Regions from separate parts of the Homo sapiens genome. Here region 2 is linked to region 1. Evidence: promoter capture Hi-C in 16 types of primary human blood cells and fetal thymus (Javierre and others, 2016). All regions are on one chromosome and are shown on one strand. Each heading gives the region's core, a stretch centred on a gene start or on the middle of the fragment in contact. The rest is flanking DNA. Distances are from core to core; before and after follow the strand shown. Region 1 holds the start of PRH2 (proline rich protein HaeIII subfamily 2). Region 2 holds the start of TAS2R20 (taste 2 receptor member 20).

Region 1 (6,742 bases), core at 4,211-6,710:
CCTCTTGAAAGCAGAACATAGTCGTGTTTTGTTTTCTTATTTATTCTCTGTCTTTTGATAGATCAAGCAAATTTATTTAAATTCATGAACATTTCTGATAACATTGAACTTGCTTTTACTGTCTTATTAAAATTTTGCTAGTTATCACTCTCTTTTCACTCTTTTTTTGCTTTGAGATTAAAGTGATAAGTTCTTTTTATTCATTTCTCCATCTGTTTTTTTTTTTTTTTTTTTTTTTGAGACGGAGTCTCGCTCTGTCGCCCAGGCTGGAGTGCGATCTCAGCTCACGGCAAGCTCCGCCTCCTGGGTTCACGCCATTCTCCTGCCTCAGCCTCCCGAGTAGCTGGGACTACAGGCGCCTGCCACCACGCCCAGCTAATTTTTTGTATTTTTAATAGAGACGGGGTTTCACCGTGTTAGCCAGGATGGTCTCCATCTCCTGACCTCATGATCCACCCGCCTCGGCCTCCCAAAGTGCTGGGATTACAGGCGTGAGACACGGAGCCCAGCCTCATTTCTCCATCTATTCTAAGTTTCTATTTTTATATAACAAATCATTCCCCAAATTGCAGGCTTAAAACAGCAGTTTATTACTTTTTTCCTCACGATTCTGTGAATTGCCTGGACTTAGTGGATAGTCTCTCATTGTGGTATTTCATGTAGTTGCCATCAGATAAGGGATGGGACCACAGTCATCTGAAGGCTCAAATGGGATGAACATCTACAATGATCCAACTCAATGGCTGACATAGGGAGGATTCCCTCTTTTTCTACTGATTGGAATAGTTTCAGAAGGAATGGTACCAGCTCCTCCTTGTAACTCTGGTAGAATTCGGCTGTGATTCCGTCTGGTCCTGGACTTTTTTTGGTTGGTAGGCTATTAATTATTGCCTCAATTTCAGAGCCTGTTAGTGGTATACTCAGGGATTCAAATTCTTCCTGGTTTAGTCTTGGGAGGGTGTATGTGTCGAGGAATGTATCCATTTCTTCTAGATTTTCTAGTTTATTTGCATAGAGGTGTTTATAGTTTTCTCTGATGGTAGTTTGTATTTCTGTGGAATCAGTGGTGATATCCCCTTTATCATTTTTTGGGGGGTCTATTTGATTTTTCTCTCTTTTCTTCTTTATTAGTCTTGCTACTGGTCTATCAATTTTGTTGATCTTTTCAAAAAAACCAACTCCTGGATTCATGGATTTCTTGAAGGGTGTTTTGTGTCTCTATCTCCTTCAATTCTGCTCTGATCTTAGTTGTTTCTTGCTGTCTGCTAGCTTTTGAATGTGTTGGAGAGCAGTTTCTCATAAAAGCTTGTGGATTCAACTGTAAAAGTGGCAATCCACTCTGACTCCCCTCTCCACTGCAGAGAGCTTTCTTCTTTCACTTATTAAACTTTTGCTCCAACCTCACCCTTTTGTGTCCACACTCCTTAATTTTCTTGGTCATGAGACCATGAGCTCAGATAACACCTTAGTAATAATATCAATGACCCGGACCTGTTTTGGTAACACCAGCTCTGGGGCCAGGACACAGGGGCACTCTCAGGCAGAAGACTGAAATCTGTGCAAGTGGTATACAAATTTATCCCTTCATACACAAATCTCAGGCCAGTCTCTCTCTTGGACTTCTAAAATTTTACATTCATTGTGATGAGAATCAACATTTTTGGTTCATTTCAAAGGACAGGCTCAAGTTTTGCCAATGCTAATATGGCTCAGCAGAAAAATGCATGTGGCTTGTATTAAGAAAGCACATAAAGGATCTACATTGACTGGGTTTTCATAATCACAAAAAACGAATAAATTTGTATGAGTATCTTTATATGAAGGCAAGGAGGAAAACAGGTGAATGGAAGCCTACGTAAATGTGCTTATGATTTAAAACAAACTTATTTCCTCAGGAAAAATATATTTTTCACCTCACCTGTTAAAGTCTTAGGAAAGCTTAACCTTGATAATCTCCTAATAACAGAACTTATGTTTCTTTTCTGAACCTCATTCCTTCTCATATTGTAATAATGAAATGAATAAATGAATAGCAAGTGAGTAGTGGTGCACACTAAACTCTGAGTACTGACTGCCTTCTATTCCACTTAATACCTTTATAAGAACATTGTTATGTACCTAAGTCATGTCATCTATAAAACTAAGGTAATGATAACAATCATATGTCCCTAATATAATGGTTTTGATGATTAAGTGGAACATAGTAAATGTTTAAAAATGTTTTCTATTATAACCAATTTGGCTAGGATAGGTGGAAAGAATAGAAATATGATAATTAATTGTGAAATGTATAATATATATTAATAGGTCATCAACATCAAATTAAAAAATATAGATGATTACCATGATAGTGAAACCAAAGTTTTTAGACAAGTCAAAGCAAAGTTGAAGTCTCAGAGACCATTGTGTTTATTTGCTAACTGTATTATCAGACTGCTTAGTTGATACAGTGAATACAATAATTCTTCCAATGTACATAAACTGCCAGACAAGCAACTCAATGCAATTCACTCACTCTCGGAGAAGTTTATCCCCTCTGCCAATGTTCATCTTTCCTGGCAAACCATCCTTCAGTATTCCAGGCAAACTAGAGCAAGGTGAAGTTGAAGAAGATCCTACTTTATATTCCATTCAGAGAGCTTCCGGGTCTTCAAAAAAGATTTAGTCATGTGGGTGTGAAAGAGCTGAGTCATGAAATTTGGACCTTATTGTAAGTCCAGAAGGAAAAACAAGGGGTTTGAAGCACAAGGGTGATATGATCTAATTTCTACTTTTAAATGATCACTCTGATTGTCGTGAGGGAACTGATATGGGATGTACTGGGGGAAGAATGTTACCAGGACCAGGTCGAGGCTGTTAAAGACCTCCAGGAGAGAGCATTGTGGGCCGAACAACAAGCTTCTAGTAAAGATCATGCAAGTGGACACATTTGAGATGTATTTTGAAGGTGGAAGAAATTAGATAAGCTAATGGGTAGTGCCTGGAGGGAGTGAGGATTTTTGAACCACTAGGTAAACACCTGTGAGTAACAGAGAAAAAGTTGGGATGTGTTATGAAAGATGAATCCTAAAATTTCATATGTTGAAGACTGATGCTTCAGGACCTCAGAATGTGAACATCCATAGTAGAAGGGAATTGTGTTGTTGACGGCTGCCACCCACTCTAGGTGCCCAAGCTCCTGCAGCAGTCCTACTTCTCCCTTTCACCCACACTCACTCCCAGACAGTGTCCCTTTCAGCTCTTCCATCACCCCTTCTTTTGATTTGGCTGGTGAGAGCATAGCTGGTATTTATACTTTCTTGATATGCTAGTCTCTTTTGCTGATTGTTGACATTGGAGAAGGTCATGGAAGGGACCTGAGCTGAGCGACCTTTAGGAGCATTTCCTGTTCTTTTCCTGTACTCTGCTGCCAAGGAGAAATCTGTCTTTCACCAGGCTTGCAGCTTTCTCCGTTACCCACATCATCAGGCAATATCTGTCTGGCACCCCTCTTTGTTCCCTTTCTCTGGCCTTCCTTTTTGACATGATGGTTGACCTGAAATCACCAAGGCAGGACTGCTCATCTCCAGGTCTAATGGAAAACAGTATCTGGTGAAACCAAAGAAAATAATCCCAGTAACCCACTGGGAGCTGCTTGGCTTAAGCACCTACCCTGTGCCTAAGATACAACCCATCAAGCCCAGCTAAAACTGATCCAGTTTCCACAGGGCCAGAGAAGAATTGCCAATTAAGAATGCATTCCCACTTCAAATATGTCTATATTTATTTCAGGGAAAATATCAGTCTGCCTGGGTCCCTTATGAGAACATTGTTGTCTGTAGAAAAATCTAATCTATTAGGAAGCCTTCTTGTTTTGTTATCTGCAACTCTTCAGAAGGGCCAGACCAGACCCTCGTATGCACAGTACAGGATCCACCCATGCACATCTGTCTAGGGCCTTGTCTTTATGATTTTCTGTCACATGGCCTCTCAGCCATGCCTCCAACCAAGCTATCCTCAAATAAACACTAGCCGTGCACAAAAAGTGAAAAATTACACAAGGCCTACACAAGGTCTGAAATGGAAAGTGCAGCTGGTGATACCGAGTAGTATATTTTATGAATTGAGGAACAGGGAATTTCTAGGTATCACAGAGCAATCAGCAGCTGAGAAGAGGAGTACCAATCCAGGACCCTGGAAGGATTTTTCAGAAACTTAATAGTTTATTGTCCAATTGTAGAGACAAAAATGAAAATAAAGATAGTGAGGAGTACCATACACCATTGCTTAGAAGATTAAATAAATGTCATCTCCCACAAGTCATGTGGGGAGAAAAAAACTATATAGGAAGAAAATTACAAACGACAAGGTAGTCTCAGCATATAAAATATCAACAAATGAATGTAAGAAAGAGAATGAGAAAGAATTAGTATTAGAATATCATAGAAAAAATCATCTTTGTGAAAGAAAACTCTGATGAAACTGGTGACATAAATACTGAGTAAAAAACAGAAGACCAATCAAGGCATTTGAGGCTTGAACAGGCATTACAAATCATCAAGTTGAATATATAAGTATGGCCACTTAGTTATTAGTGGTGAAGACTACGGTATTTGTTAGAAGAAATAAAGTAGATGATGAATTCTATAGAATATTCTGGAGAAAGTGGAGGTCTTAGCTACATGACATCGTGTGGCTCACTTTGGGAACCATGTTTCAGTTTGTTTAGGTCTAGAAATTCCTTGGTGGTTTCTGTGTTCAGTTTTGCTTTAATAATCCCTAAAGATATTTTTTAAAATACAAATTTTTTAGCTTTCCTGTATTGTACAGCACCAACGCTTGCCTGAGTGTAGTGAGATTCACAGAGTTTGGAAATTTCCTGTAGCATGAGGAGGCTGCGGGGCAGCCTTCTGTCATCTATGTGTACCCAGCAGTGTGCTGTCCTCACACAACTCACGGATAAGCAGAAAGCATCTCTATTACATGAAAAATTTAGCTAAATATACAAATATCCATGCACACACATCATGAGAGATGGAAATAGGCTATCAAAAGAGTCAGACATATTGACCGTCTTCACTGTTAGCTGTAGGATTGCTGCCCAACCCCCTGACACACCCACACAAACTCACATACACACAAATGAAAAGCACAGTGGAAAGCAGAATAGCAGTCTTTCCAAACAGATTGAAAAACAAATGATGTCTAAAGTTCAATCCTGACACTGTGCTGATTGCTTGGACACAGTTCCGTCAAAACATTTGTCCAAGTCATAGTTGTACCTTTTAGAAATTAGCCACAAACAACATCCTCCCCAACCCTTCCTGCTAGGCTAGAGTCCCAGAAGAAATGAGGGATACACTTGACCTGAAGTAAGCAAAGCAGAACCCAGTCTCTGAGGCGAGGAGGCCCACCTGGTAGGGAGCTCAAATGCGCCATTGTCCTGCTTGTCTTTATAAAGGGAGCTGACACGTTTCTCCCAGCATAAAGTTGGGAGTGACACCAGAGCCTTCTGCAAGATGCTTCTGATTCTGCTGTCAGTGGCCCTGCTGGCCTTCAGCTCAGCTCAGGACTTAGATGAAGGTAAGCCGAATTGGGGGAAGATATTGTGACTCTGATTGGGGTTTACGGGCGAATGCTATAGAGGGGGAAAGTGGAGGGAAGAGAGGAGGATGAGAAAACAGATAGGACTGAAGAGTTCTCATGCCAAGGATCAGAAGACCTGTTGTGCCTTCATTCCTCATCAAGACCTCATAATTTATTGATTGCACAAATAGAACCCAATAAAGAATTTGTACCGGGGGAGTGAGAGAGTGAGATTTGCATTTATAGAGACATGGGACTGCTGGGAAGGATATGGAGAATGCAAGACAGATTCAGGGAAGTGCAGCTGTGAAGATCCTATACTGATCCCAGTAGACAGGGATGATGGTGGCCTTGCTGGACAGTGGATGAGTATCCATGAAGGAGATAAACACATGTCAGAGCTATTGCTGAGGCAGAGAATTGGGTAAACACTTGCCTCTGTCTACATAGAGTTAGAGAATCACCAGAGTGAAATATTGTCATTTTTTTCTCTCCTGCATGTAGTATTTTAATGTGCTGGGACGGGCATTTGTAAGATTGTATCTAAGTGGCTATGTCTGGTGGCTCCTGTTGAGAAAGCTTGCAAACATAAACAACATATTTACAGATGAAAGAGGGCAGAAGGATCCCCAAATATTTCATTGAAATACTCAAGAGCCCTTTAACTAAATAAGCACTAAGGCTTAAGGAATCATGAGAGGACAAACAGGGGCCCTTCTATGTTGAGTTCCTGGTTGACGCTCAGTGTAGTAACAATCCTGCTTTCCCTTACATCTTCTTCCACTTCCGGTAGCATCAGAGAGTGGCTGATGAGATCTCAAAGGGGATGCACAGGGTGTGATCAGAGGTCCTTTATCCTCGTAGAACACTATGAGCTCTGAATGATTCATGCAGTAACTTTTCCCATCATCCTGTACTTCTTTTCTAGATGTCAGCCAAGAAGACGTTCCCTTGGTAATATCAGGTAAATCCCAATAAATTCTCAGTAAACTCTGTCTCCATTTTTCCCTGAAAAATTGATCAGTTCTCCAGTGTCTTCTTATCATCCTTGTCAGGAATTGGCTAATATCAGTGCCCCAGAGATATAAACAGTTTTCTCCCAACCTTGATTCTGGGGACCATGAGTAAAGAAATTTGATTTTTCACCACCCTAATGTGGATTAAGAGGAGTTCTAAT
Region 2 (6,624 bases), core at 2,803-5,302, 69 kb after region 1:
AACCTCCATCAAGGGATTGGATGATGGAAAGCAGAACAGCAGAGATGGTAGTTCTGCCTCAGGGAAACCCTGGCCAGTGGGAAATAGAAGACAGAAGACAGCTGAGCAGATATATTCTCCGTCCTCTGTTGCTTCCATGGGCTAATGCTGGCTGTGTTGTCCTCTCGCAGCCCTTCTGAAAAAGTCCTGGGAGCCAAGTGCATGCATCTGATAACCACCATGCTGTCTCTCTCACATCATTGTGAAGTGGTCGTCAGCAGAGTCATATCACACATTACAGCACATAGTGTCACATCTTCTCTTGACTCAATTTCCACATGTCCCAGCCATTTCTGCAGTGGACCTCCTTCCAAATAAATGTCATCACTTTAATATCAGACATTTGCTCTACTTCTAGACCCCTGATAAGATATTCATTCAGTGTTATAATTATTATTCATTCATTTTTCCATCAGTTTATAATATGGTGATTAAAGTGGTCATTTAGAAAGGATATTAAAAATACTAAATAAAGATTATATTTTAGTAAGATAGTTGGTAACTAAATTTTTTAAATGAAATGTCATTTTTGTTTATATAATAACCAGCTAGAAATACCACAATATAAATATATCATTCGCAATAGAAAAGATATGTGCACTTATACAAAAATCTTTTATATGCTTAGTAAAAAGTATTGTAATAAATGCCATCTTTTTATTTTCCACTTTGTCTTTGTGTCACACATCTGATATAGCTGCATCACTGCTATATTATAGTGATATTTCCCCTAGAATTGTGGAATAGCCAAACTTTTGCTCTGAGAAATTCTTCTTCTTCTTGGATAATCCTGTAACTTCAATCTGAAACCAGAACAGAAATGTGCACCCAACTGTAGATTTTGTGATGTGTTACATTTTCATTGGTTCACCACCCCAATATAGTTCATATTCATTCATTCACCAATTAACTTGTTCATCAAAGTATCATTTTTCAATACCTATTCTATGTGCTATCTTTATGTCTTGGGAGTCTACAGTAAGCAAGATCTATATGATCTCTACTTTTATGGTATTTACATTGTACCAGGTAAGATATATGATAAACAAACAAATCAGATGTGGAGATGATTTATCTTAAGGTTTAGATAATATTGTTAAAATTGCATAACACCAGAAATTAATACAGTCACACAGAATTTAGCTGTTGAACTAGGTTATACATTTTCTTCTTGTAATAGAACTTGCTATTAGTGAATATGTCAACACACTTTCTCTCATTTCATTATTTACACCAAGATTATAATAAAACATATCTTTAAGACATTTCCTATCATTAATATATAGATTTCATAGATGCCATAGTTTCTATACCCTCTTTAGATTGAGCTTCTTTTTAAAGTAAGGAAAATTTGAGCTTTTTGAGGAATTTTAAGGATGGAAGATAAAGGAGGAAATTGACAATTCAGGAGCTCAGAGGTGGCTTAGACAAAAAACTGAAATATATAACATCAGATCTCAACTTCAAAAAGGTTTTTGTTTAATTCAAAAACTGGAAGAGATGACTTTTCTAATTGCGTATGGAAACTTATAACAGCACTGAAAAGAGCTCATGATCATGTTTCTTCATCCTTTTTATAGAAATGATTTTTTCTAAGCTATTAACATACTATATTAAATATAATATTCCTCAGTATTGCTTTTGATACACATAAAAATGTACACTAGATATATTTTTCACCCTTGAATTTTATTTTGTGCATTGTTATCTAACAATAATTGTATTTGCTTTATATTAAACATAAAATAAGAATTCATCATGAATGTCTATAATCCCAGCACTTTGGGAGGCTGAGGCAGTGGATCACTTGAGGTCAAGAGTTCGAGACCAGCCTGGCCAGCATGGTGAAACCCCATCTCTACTAAAAAAAAAAAGAAAAATACAAAAAATTAGCCACGTGTGGTAGCGCATGCCTGGAGTCCCAGCCACTCAGGAGGCTGACGCATGGAAATCACTTGAACCCCAGAGGTGAACGTTGTGGTGAGCCAAGATTGTGCTACTGCATTCCAGCCTGGACAACAGGGCAAGACTCCATCTCAAAAAAAAGAAAAAAAGAATTCATGATTAAAAAAAAAACAAAAAAACCTACCCCAAAGACACATTCTCATCGATTTAGAATTAAATGTCCTTACCATCCAAAAAATTAGAGGTTCAAACAATGATAGTTAAACAGTTAAACACACTATGGTACATATACGTGATACAAATTACAACGAAAAACAGCAATGATTTTACAACGAAAAACAGCAATGATTTTCTGATATAAGCTGTCAGTTCTTAATTATAAATAGAGATCATAAATTCCTCAAATGAAATATCATATAAAAAAATGTGTGAAATACACATGGGTTCATAATTCTGAGAAATTTCTTATCCTACTTTGGTATAACTGAACAGTTTATATGAAAAGTTGATTAAAGGTATGTTATGGTAAATATTAAATTTTCATATACATTCAGACATACACACACACGCAAATGTATATTATATATATATACTTTTATATAATAAACTTAGGTAAAAGACTTTTCTATGTCAACTTTTGGAAATTACTCAAATACATAGACTACGGAAAAACTTGTGGGAAATATAAAATGTTCCAGACACCATCAATTTGTTTTCTGCTAGAAAACACACAATGCACCTCTTGTGAATCTATGGAGTTGACTGGTTCTGTCCTTTTGCCCAGCAAGTCACCTGCCACAAAACTGAAAGAAAGGTCTGCTTTAGCGTCTTGTTCCCCCAAATCAGAATGAATGAGTGGAATGATGGATATATGATTCCAAAAGCTTGGCAAAGCATTAAGACAATTTCTTTTGGTCGCATCTTAAAATTCCAAAACGATATGATTAGACACAGAAAGTAAATGGCAAGTAATATGAGGAAGGAGGTCACAGTTTGCAGAGCTTTTATGTGGATCTTGGTGCTGGGATCTTGAGATCCTTTGCCATGGAGCTGCATCTTCTTCAGATGTTTACACAGAGAGTAGATTAACAGCAGAAAAGATATCAGGGTCAGAGTGAATGGTATCAAGTTTGCTAGCATGGCTACAGTCAAGTTGGAAAGGTGCATTGCATTCCTCAGTTTGATCTTCCAAGTTACGTTTCCTTCACATTCTTCTGTCCACACATTTATATACGTGTGTTTCATCACAAGGTGACAAACCAAAAAGAACAAAGACCCCAACACTATCACCAGAACTACACTCTTAGCCTTCCTTTTTAAGTGATGAAAAATAAGTCTGGAGAAATTGACGATCTTGAGCAAATAAAATATGCTGAGGCTAGTAGCAAGCCAGATGCTGAAATGATTGGTTACTGCCCAGGCATTAGAAATAAAAATTATTACTTTTAAATTAGATGAAGTTGGATTCAACACAGTTGAATACCAATGTAATAATATTACCCAGAGCAAACCAACTCTGGAGACTGCCAGAGCAGCAATAATTTGATCAGCTGAGGAGATCTTTTGTCTCTTGACCCAGGCAATGAAATTTATCAGTGCTATAAAGCCATTGGCAAAATTTCCAAGAATAAATGCAACCACTACTAGAATGGAAAAAACAATGTGTAGAAAACTCATCATGTCTAAACAAAAAAGCAAGTAAAAAATTCAGGCCTAATGTCACTGATGGTGACTCCTCTGATATTCAAGACTTTAAGTTAAATATGCACTTGATTCCTGAATGTCCAATAACATTCTTTATACTTTTAAATTCTGTGAACAATGTCAACAGAAAAGCACCAGCTTAAACTAATGAATGAGTTCAATGCTGCCTTTATGGGAAATACTGTTAGTCCCAAAACAACTCAAATTAATTCTTATTCATAAAGTCTCTATTCTTGCTATAGGCTGAAATTTTTCATACTGATGTTGAAGGGAAAGCTGAATTCTCATTTGCTAGCATTCAAATAAAGACATATCCTCTTTCATTGCTTTGCAATTTTTTCCTTGTTTCACCTTTCCATAATTTGTGTTCAGCCCTTCAGTTGTTGGGGAAATTTTAATACCCAGTACATAGATGACACAAAAAATATATTGTTAAAAGAGCCTGGTGAAATCTAGGATCAAAATCACTATGGATTTATTTTTAAAGCCAGATTTAAATACACAGAATCTAAACTTTTTATCAAAATCACCTAAGATTTTCTTGGAAACCACAGGAAAGCCAATACTCCTTATAATTTGGTTGCTGTTAACCAATACTTCTATATGGCATCACTATTAACAAGCTCATAAACACACACACAGACACACACACACTTTCACTCTTCAAGGATGGAAGGAATTGCTTTCTTGTAACTTATGACATGGAAAATGAGTTTCCAGGAGCTCGTCCTGGTGGAATTAGTCCTATTTTTCCCATGCCAGATTTTCAGCCAATGAATAATATTCATGAAACATATCTCTCATGCTTAGGCTTTTGGTAATGCTACCTGCAAGCTTGTAAACATTCCTGAGTACCAGACCTTTGTCACATAATTTTGCAGTGTCCTCCCACCACAGGCATAGTGACAACCTTGCACTAGGGCTCTGAGTTCGATCATGTAATTTGCTTTGATGAACAGAAAATTACTACACTTTACATCGAAATTTGAGATGACCTCCACATTAGGCTTTCTTGTTCCTTTCCGGTTTATAATGAGAACATGTCCACACTAACACACTGTTCCCAGAATAAGAATGAGTAACTCATGGAATCATATGGCTCCTGCCTGATCCAGCCTTAAATCGGCCAAACTCTAACTAGATCCAAGAGGCAAAACTTGGACCATCTCAAATCACCAGAGCCATCCACCAAACCCCAGCTTAAGAAAACAGAATCCAAAAACATGTGAGATATAAATATCTAATGTGGTTTTGGAGAAGTTTCTTTTGCAGAAAAAGCTAAGTGATATAGGTACTCTGCTAATCCAAGAGTTTGAGAAATATGTGCGCCCTTGTTGTGTCAGAAATTCAGGAGCCAAAGGAAAAATAGGTTGGAAATATCAAAGTTTTTGTAATATGAGGTGAATATCTAAAACTAGAAGAAAACTTTTGGAAAGATCTGGAGGCTGTAGGTAACAGCATCTCAAATTTCTCCATTTTGCAACTAAAATAAGAATTCACTTTAGCTCTCTTGAGTTGTATAAGAATGTACGTAAATGGTGGATTTTCCCCCTAGGTATATAATGAGCAGAGCAATTAATAATTTTTACGTGACATTTCTCCCAATTTGTAATTTTTTAAATAAAATTATAATGCACACTTAGAAATGGGCCAAAACAAAAATAGGTAAGAGCAATGTATCATAAACACTTATGTAACCATCATGCAGGATAAGACATGGAACACTGCAAACAGACTAGGTCCACTTCCAGGCCACTTTCCAAGCCCCTAAACCTTTATTCACATCTCCTGAGATAAGCAATATTCATAATCTATGATGATCATTTGCTTGAATTTCTTTATACTTTACCAGCTAGGTTCACAACCCTAAACTCCACAGCTTGGTCTGTCCTGCTTTGAACTGTGTATAGGTGCAGTCCTGTGTGTTCTTCTTGTTCATGGCTTCTTGCACTAGATATCATGTTTCTGAAATTTAGTTACATAGTTGCATGTACATGTGATTCATTTCTTTTCACCTCTATATACTGTTCCACTGTATGGATTTACTGTAATCTTTCATATCATTCAATCATCCTTAGTTAATATATATTTGGGCAGTCTATTTTTGAGCTATTATGAATAATACTACTATCAGCATTATTTCACATATCATTTGATGCAATTCCTATTATGGGGTCATTAAATGTGGTGTTCAAATTATCCTCACAGACATAGAAAAGTGCAAAAAATAATTTATCTAAATTTGTTCCTGTCACCTTTACCTCCAGTCTCTTTATCGCTATTTGCATATATCTTATCAATAATATATTTAACTCAGCAAGACGCTATTATTTTATTCAGTCAACATTCATTTAGAATTATGCACATATTTATCATTTCTGTTAATTTTTATTCCTTCTTGCATGCTTAACCTTGTATTTTCAATATTTTTTATCTGAAAAATATCATTTGGATTTCTGTTTATGAAGGTCCTCTATTCTTTTGAAACACACTAAAGACATGATTCCATTGAATTCTACTTTCCATTTTTCTGTTGAAAATCAGGTTGTCATTTAGAAAGTTGTTCCTTTTAAAATAATCTATCTTTTCCTCTGGCTACTTTTCAGATTTTCTACTGGTCTTTGATGTCTTGTGACATTTTATGTTAATTTGTTTTTAGTTATCTTGTCTGACCTTTGATGGTTACTAAAAATATATGGATTAATACATTTTATCACTTTTGGGAAAATCTCCACAACATTGATTCTGCCCTATTTTATCCCTTTTAATCTTCCAGAAATCCAGAAGTATGTTAGATGCTCTGATTGTAGCATCAATGCCTCTTATCCTCTTAGCTTGGCATTCTTTGTCTTGTGGTCTCTTTAGGCTTCTTTCTTTATAGTTGTCTTCCAATTCACTAATTCTCTCTTCTATGTCTAACTGGTTGTTAACTCTGTCTATTGGATTCTCAATATTGATTATTTATTTTTTGCTATT

Evidence for each region. The method cuts DNA at HindIII sites, captures the fragments that hold promoters and counts their contacts. A CHiCAGO score of 5 or more calls a contact.
Region 2: the fragment with the promoter of TAS2R20 here is called in contact with the fragment with the promoter of PRH2 in region 1 in 4 of 17 cell types (neutrophils, activated CD4 T cells, non-activated CD4 T cells and 1 more); the score reaches 8.8 in neutrophils.

Annotation. Positions count from the first base shown.
Region 1 is chr12:10,923,776-10,930,517 of GRCh38, forward strand. PRH2 (proline rich protein HaeIII subfamily 2) reads left to right here and starts at 5,461. Exons shown (of 4, transcript NM_001110213.1): 1 at 5,461-5,562; 2 at 6,494-6,529. The coding sequence starts at 5,499. The region is part of intron 4 of PRH1-PRR4 (PRH1-PRR4 readthrough); the gene reads right to left. It also overlaps a transcript of PRH1 not described here. The HindIII fragment of the contact is 3,246 bases long and covers 2,897-6,142 here.
Region 2 is chr12:10,994,252-11,000,875 of GRCh38, forward strand. TAS2R20 (taste 2 receptor member 20) reads right to left here and starts at 4,053. Exons shown (of 1, transcript NM_176889.4): 1 at 1,710-4,053. The coding sequence starts at 3,624. The coding sequence ends at 2,695. The region is part of intron 3 of PRH1-TAS2R14 (PRH1-TAS2R14 readthrough); the gene reads right to left. All of the region lies in intron 3 of PRH1-PRR4 (PRH1-PRR4 readthrough), which reads right to left. It also overlaps a transcript of PRH1 not described here. The HindIII fragment of the contact is 1,654 bases long and covers 2,827-4,480 here.